Regions from separate parts of the Homo sapiens genome. Here region 1 is linked to region 2. Evidence: promoter capture Hi-C in human tissues and cell types (Jung and others, 2019). All regions are on one chromosome and are shown on one strand. The core of a region is centred on a gene start or on the middle of the fragment in contact, and the rest is flanking DNA. Distances in the headings are between cores, read along the strand shown.

The links. The method cuts DNA at HindIII sites, captures the fragments that hold promoters and counts their contacts. A contact is called where the count stands out against the background at its distance.
Region 1: a contact is called between a fragment that was not itself captured here and the fragment with the promoter of GNG10 in region 2, in 2 of the 25 tissues and cell types used here (heart left ventricle and pancreas).

Annotation. Positions count from the first base shown.
Region 1 is chr9:111,578,226-111,581,923 of GRCh38, forward strand. PTGR1 (prostaglandin reductase 1) reads right to left here. Exons shown (of 10, transcript NM_001146108.2): 7 at 571-726. Among named protein-coding and RNA genes, the nearest start is that of PTGR1, 20 kb to the right of the region's middle. The HindIII fragment of the contact is 3,979 bases long and covers 1-3,247 here.
Region 2 is chr9:111,659,829-111,663,646 of GRCh38, forward strand. It overlaps GNG10 (G protein subunit gamma 10), which reads left to right and starts at 1,777. Exons shown (of 3, transcript NM_001017998.4): 1 at 1,777-1,887. The coding sequence starts at 1,807. All of the region lies in intron 1 of DNAJC25-GNG10 (DNAJC25-GNG10 readthrough), which reads left to right. RefSeq lists enhancers at 1,358-1,417, 2,488-2,587, 2,788-2,837 and silencers at 1,598-2,047, 2,078-2,197. The HindIII fragment of the contact is 18,619 bases long and covers 1-3,818 here.

The DNA of each region.
Region 1 (3,698 bases), core at 8-2,507, 82 kb before region 2:
GGAGCAGTTTCATTGGAAGACAATTTTTCCATCGATTGTTGGGGGGATGGTTTCAAGGATGATTCAAGTACATTGTGTTTATTGTGCACTTTATTTCTATTATTATTGCAATGTAATATACAATGAAATAATTATACAACTCACCATAACCATAGAATCAGTGGGTGAGTTTTCCTGCAACTAGACGGTCCCATCTGGGGGTGATGGGAGACAGTGACAGATCATTAGGCATCAGGCATCATCAGGCACCTGAGTAGTGCGATCTCCATAAGGAACGCACAACCTAGATCCCTCACATGCATAGTTCACAACAGGGTTTACACTTCTATGGGAATCTAATGCTGCCACTGTTCTGAGAAGAGGCGGAGCTCAGGCAGTAATGGGAGCAATGGGGAAGGGCTGTAAATACAGATGAAGCTTTGCTTGCTCACCTGCCCCTCACCTCCTGCTGTGCATCCCAGTTCCTGATAGGCTATGGACCACTAACCATCCATGGCCCAGGGGTAGGAGACTCCTGCTTTATATAGTACTTCCATAATAAATTAGATATTAAGTCCAGTTTGTACTTACATTATCAAAATAACAATCATAACCATCAGGAGACGCTTTCTTCAAGGTTTCTTCCAAAGACTCTACCGTCTTGTAGTTAAAGACGACATCAAATCCAAGCTTTTGAAGGTAGGCAACCTTTTCATCAGACCCTACTGCTCCAACAACTTTGCAGCCCTAAGTAGAAAAAAAAAAAAAAAGGAAACCATGAATAAGTCACAAGCATGGACCAACACTACTTTCCTGGTCTCGTATGCCTAGGTTCCCTAGGAACACTCTCTTAGGTGCTGAGCCACATATAAAAGGAATACCATAATGGGCCAACAGATCCCATAGGTGAAATCAGTCCCCGGACCATCCTACAACTCAGCTTCAGCTTGCTTCTGACCACCCAGCAGGTCCCTTCTGCATTTATTTGGTTCATAGTTCCACCAGCTGGTTTCACAACCGATCCATTTGACTTCCTTGGTTCTTTGTTTCTGGGCTTCTCTTCCTTGCAATGCAGTGTATGCCATCTCTTGGTACAGTCATTCTTCAGACTATTATTTTGTCTCAGCTCTGTGACTCCCACATCACAGACAGCCCTCCTAGTAACTGCCCCCTTATCCTTTTTTGATTTTTTAAATGTTTATATTTTTTTGAGACATGGTCTCACTCTGTTGCCCAGGCTGGAGTGCAGTAGCACGAACATGGCTCACTGCAACCTTGACCTCTTAAGCTCGTGATCCTCCCACCTCAGCCTCCTAAGTAGCTGGGACCACAGGTGCATACCACTACATCTGGCCTTATATTTTTTAAATTTTCACAGAGACAGGGTCTCACTATATTGCCCAGGCTGATCTCGAACTCCTAGGCTCAAGTGATCCTTCTGCCTTGGCCTCCTAAAGTGCCCAGGCTGATCTTGAACTCCTGGGCTCAAGTGATCCTCCTGCCTCAGCCTTCTAAAGTGCTCGGATTACAGGCATGAGCCACTGCACCAGGCCCCCTTTATCCTTTGATTTAGTCCAAAGCACCAGACTACACGCTTCCTAATCACAGAGGAGCTAGGAAGCATTCTGAAAAGCACTTTCAGGATGACACTACAGATTATAGTGGTTCATAGAAACTAGCTTTTCAGAAAGCTCCCTTATACTCTAAATGTATTATGAAGACCAGAATATGTGCCACTGTGCATTTTCAATCGAGGAAAAACCCCAGTTGGATTTACATGAATCTCTGTACAAATAGTGACGGCCACAGGCTTTTTCCATTCCTTCATGATTCCAGAAAAAACTATTGCAAGAGAGCCCTCCTTGGTCCTTTTTCCTTCTAAGACTATAGACTATCATAGGATGATCTCTTTCACTCTTATGACCTCCTTTATGCAGATTATTAATTAATCTATTAATTCTATCTATTAATGTTAGCCCATTTTTTTTCTCCTGAGTTCCAAATCAGTATTTCCAACAACCTATAGATGTCCTCACACTTGGATGTCCTGTAGGTCCCTCATAAATAGTGTGTTCAAAAGGGAATATACTTTTTTCCTTGCTTCTTACTTATTTCTTTTCTATCCACTATTATAAGAGAATGATACCACTCAGTTATCCAAACCTGAAACATGGCTCAAAGGAGAAGCTTTCCTTTGTCTTATGATCCATGTCCAATCATCTGGTTTTCTTCCTCTTTTTTAACCAAACAGCCTTAAAATCCGACTCTGGGCCAGGCGCGGTGGCTCACGCCTGTAATCCCAGCACTTTGGGGGGCTGAGGTGGGTGGATCACCGGAGGTCGGGAGTTCGAGACCAGCCTGACCAACACGGAGAAACCCCATCTCTACTAAAAATACAAAATTAGCCAGGCGTGGTGGCACATGCCTGTAATCCTAGCTACTCGGGAAGCTGAGGCAGGAGAATAGCTTGAACCTGGGAGGCAGAGGTTGCGGTGAGCTGAGATCGCACCATTGCACTCCAGCCTGGACAACAAGAGCGAAACTCCATCTCAAAAAAAAAAAAAAAAGCTGACTCTGACTTCCAATCTTTGTCGATGCATCAAAATTTTCATTTGAATTATTGTAAGAGCCTCCTAAGTGGACTTCTTGTTTCTAGCATAGCGTCCCTAGGAACTATTCTCCTACCAAGGCCTAAGTGATGTTTCTAAAAAGCAGAACCAATCATGTTACTTCTTTAAGGATTGAGTATAAATTCCTTAGCATGGCAGTCTCCAGTGGAATTTCTACAGGGAAGAGAAGATATTTTAAAAGATGTGTTCATACTGTTTCAAGTTTCTCAGTGAAATTCAAAAGGATACTGCATTAGTCAACAAGTGCAGGTTATGGGGAAAGGAAGCAATCCTAGAATATGAGGAGCCTCAGCTATGAAAAACTTAATTGCTAATCTAGAAACTGATGCTGCTGCAAGTCATGTAATTCAATTGGAGGACCAGATTAAGAAAGTACAGAATTCAGAGGAAAAAGTACAAAAGATGTAATTATGAGAGCAAAGAGAGCATACAAGAATAGTCCTAAGGGAAACAGAATGAACATATACCATTCCTCATGAAGAAAACAGAATAGATGAAAAAAATAATTAAATAGAAGAAGAAAACTGTTCTTCATCTGAAGAAAAACGTTGGTCTTCAGATTATAATGGCTAACTAAGTTGCAGGCAGGATTAAACAAAGACAGATATAGACATTTCCTGGTGATATTTCTAAACTCAAAGAATAACAAGAAATGCTTATAAGCACCTCAAAGAAAAGTCTAATTACCTACAAAGGAAAGAGAATCAGATTGGCTTTGAATGTCTCATCTGCAACCCTAAATAGAAATTGAAAAAGTAGAGCAATTTTATAGAGCTCTGAGAGAAAGGGATTGGGTCCTTTGAATTTTTTTTTTTAATTTAGAGACAAGGTCTCACAACATTGCCCAGACTGGTCTTGAACTTCTGAGCTCAAGGGATCCTCTTGCCTCAGCCAGAATTCTGAGAAGCTGAGATTATAGGCACACAGCACTGCACCTGGCAGGTCCTTTGAATTCTATATGCATCAAAATTAAAAGGCATTTTCAGATGTCATAACCAAAAAGTTTTAATGATAATGAGATTTTTATTATTTATTAGATTATTGAATAAAAATCTAGGATGTAGGGTAGAATATGGGGAAAAAATATAC
Region 2 (3,818 bases), core at 527-3,026:
CTTCCTCTATTTTTAAATTTATTCACTCTACATGTGTGCATCGCCTCCAGCTGTCCTCCATACTGGACTGTTCTTCCTTCTGAGCCATCTGCAAGACACGTATCTCCAAAGTCCAGCTCTCACGATCTATGATGAGCCTTTCCTAATCCAGTATGTATATCTTTGCACTGAGTTCTTTGCCATATCTTTTAAATATGAAATCATTCTATTTTGTCCTATTCATCAGTCTCAGAATTGATTGTTGAATGTTCCCAACATGTACTTTCATCTCTTTACTAAGATATATATTAATTTCTTTGTGGTGAGGAAATTGGCCACTAGAGAGGGCTTTCAAATGTGCAAGTCTCCCTTTGGCCCAGGCACAGCTAATCTGAGCACGTCAATGCCACACATCCTTGCCTTCAAAGAGTAATTGGGCCAGGGGTGGGCCCATGACTTAATACCAGCCAGTGAGGTTCATTATGGGGATTTTTGCTGGAACGATTAGAAAGAAAAGAGGTACTATTTTTCCTGGGTTTGCTAGATGGGGACAGTGAAAGTGTGGTGCCTTCCTTCATACCACTAGAGAAGTCCATCTACCACCAAGGAAAATGAGGCTAATCTCAGGAAAAGCAGAATCAAAACAAGGAGGATGAGAGCCCCAAAATTATTATTTGGGTAATTGAATTCACTAGTTTAAAGTCCCTGGACTTTTCAGTTACACAAGCCAATATATTACCTTTTGCAATATTCAGTTTAAGTGAGTTCTGACAAATACAATGGTGTACAAGAATAATGACGTATTAATGATACATGGAAAAAAGCAACACAAAAATTTTAAATATAGTAACGATCCCAGTTTTGTAAAACACTTATTAAAAAATGCAGTAGGCCTATAATGCCAGCACTTTGGGAGGCTGAGGTGGGAGGATCACCTGAGCCCAGGAGTTCAACACCAGCCTGGCCAACATCGTGAAACCCCGTCTCTACTAAAAATACAAAAATTAGCCGGGCGTGGTGGTGTGTGTCTGTAGTCCCAGCTACTCAGGAGGCTGAGGCAGGAGGATCACCTGAGCCCACGAGGTGGAGGCTACAAGGAGCTGTGATCACGCCACTGCACTCCACCCCGGGTGACAGAGCAAGACCCTGTCTCAAAAAAAAAAAAAAAAAAAAAAAAAGCAGCAGAATAGAAACAATGATGACAGTTAAATGGTGAGATGAGAGTGAGAAACGCTGAATTTAATTTTATTCTGTATGTTTCACAAAGATGTCAGGGTCTGGGATTTTATCCAATTTACCATACTCCACCAAATCAACTGGTAGGATCTCCGTGAAACAGTAACAGGGTCATTTAGAAACCTGTTGCTGCCTCATGAAAATCCTATGAACTCTCCTTGGTTCCCCGGTGATACTGTCTGGCAAGGCCCCTTATCTCTCCAACTCATGTCACACCTTGGCTCCAGTTCTCATTTCTCAGGGGTGCGTGTTTGCTGCCGCCCACTCCATCCTCGCGTCCCACGCCCTCGCGATTCCTGCTCATCCTAGGGGCGCCAGCTTCGCTGGAGGACGCCGCGCTCTGCGGGTCCCCGCCTCGGTTCCAGGCCCAGCTGCAGGTGCCACCCAGGTTTCAGGCGCTGAGGAGCGGAGAGCACTGCCAGCTCGCTGGGGTCCCCGCTGTCTCTGGCAAGCGGCTCCGCGCCGGGTGGGCTGGGGCGGCGGGGCGGGCGCAGCTGCTTCCCCGCCCCGGGGCGGCACCCGCGCTCGGGGCTGGCGGCTCCTCCCCGCCCGGCCGGGCCCAGCAGCCCCTAGGAGCCCAGCGCCGCCGCCATGTCCTCCGGGGCTAGCGCGAGCGCCCTGCAGCGCTTGGTAGAGCAGCTCAAGTTGGAGGCTGGCGTGGAGAGGATCAAGGTGCGGGCCCCGGGTACCCACGCTCCGGTCCTTCCGCCCGCGGGGCGTGAGAAGAGGAGGCCGGCGGCCCGGACCGGGCGCCAGCGGGGGACTCGGTGGCGGCGGCGAGGCCTCGGCGGGGCGCGGGGGCGGTGGGGTCCGCGGTGAGGGAGGGCGCGGGGCAAGCCGGGGGCCCGGGCCTGACGGGAGGAAGCCGCGCCTGGGGGGCCCCGCGGTCGTGGTCGGTCCCGGTCCCTGGGGGTGCGCCCACTCCAGAAGGCGGCCGTGGTCAGTTCCTCGGAGGGCGCAAGGGATGCCGGCGACGCGCGGGCCGGGAGGGTGGACCCAGGGCTGGGGAGGCCACCGCAGGGCGGCGAATTGGTGATGGATTGGTAGGATGAGAGCGAGAGGGAGGAGAGCCAGGATGCTCGGGTTTCTGTCGTCGTGACAGGGTGGACGGCGCTGCCACCCGCCGAGGTAGAGAGGAGGGGGAACAGGTTTGGGGAAATGATGAGTTCGGCTGCGGACCTGGGGACTCCGGGGAGTCATCCGGGAGGTATTTGTCCTCATGGCCTGAAGCTCAGCGCCCAGGGCTGAAAGAGGTCATTCAAGTGCATTGGGGCGAAAAAGCCTCTTCTATGAAGAGCAGAGCTCAGAGCCTGGGACCCGGGGACCAGCCACACCGATGGCCGGTGGCCGAGAGAAGAGGAAATAAGAGACAGCAAGGTTTCCGAGCAAGGCCTAGAGAAGAGGAAATAAGAGACAGCAAGGTTTCCGAGCAAGGAAGTAGGGATTTCCAAAAACTGGGGGCTCAGTCAACATGTCCAGCGTTTAGTCAGTTGGCTAAAAGGCGTCTGTTGTAGAGCTGTGTTTAGCTACGAGTGCAGCATTATTTGCAGAAGATCTGTAAGAAGGAACACAACCAGGATAGTCCCTGTGCCTCAGTTTCTCCTTTGCTGTGTGCCTGGCACTGCTACAGGGAATAGGGTGGTTCTGGAGGGGAAGGTAAACAGCAACTTAACGGATACATAGCATCGCTTCATGTACTAAGTGGAGTGAAGATAATAAACAGGGTAAAGGGAGAGAGGGCTGTGGAATGCAGAGGTCTGGTGGCTTATGTGTTAGTAAAAGCAGAATCTGGACTGTCATAGGGTAGGCAGACGTTTTTTCTTTTTAAAGAAACCTAGTTTTAAAGAGGAAATAACGTGTTTTTTTAACTTAGGAAATGAAAAGCCATGTTTTAGGGTTGAGAGGAAGTAACAAATTATATTTTTAGGTTCCAGGGAAGAAACAAATGGAAGCCAATTGCTGGTAGAGGAGACAGGGCTACGGGGGGGTGGGGGATTGGTGGCACAGCTTCTGAGACAGGAAGAAAGAAGGTAAGGGTGTGTGTAAAGATAAGTTTCTAGATATGGGCTAAACTTGTATGGTGACACTTTTCTTTGTGAAATAGGAGGCCAGGTTTTCTTCTAAGGCAGAGGAAAGGGGACTAAGGGAGTGGCCCCTGAGCAGGCACGCAGATGCGCTGTGACTGAAGACCCAGCTGCTGTGACAAGGGAGACTGCTGGTCATATTTGTGATTTTTTTTTTTTCCTGCAGCAATCTTTACCATCCTGGAATGTGAGTGCTGAAGGTGAACGGTAGTTGAAAGAGGAGTAAGTTAGCAGGGGAGGTATGCCAGAAAGGTGGAGGTGGGGCCGGAGGGCAAGGCGTGTGAAGGTCTGGCCAGAAAGAGGCTGAGCCTAGATGGATAGAGAAGGAATGCAGCCAGCCTCCTGGTGATAGGTGAGACAGAAGGGGAGGAGGTGATGCCTGGTGATCTCGGTGAGGTCAGAGCAGAATAAAGGAAGAATAAAGGAGGCAGCACCCTGGATGGGAAGGAGAGATTGTGATCAGAGAGTAGGATACTGGAGTGTAAAATTTCAGAAGTGGAGCAGTTACAGGTGTTGTAA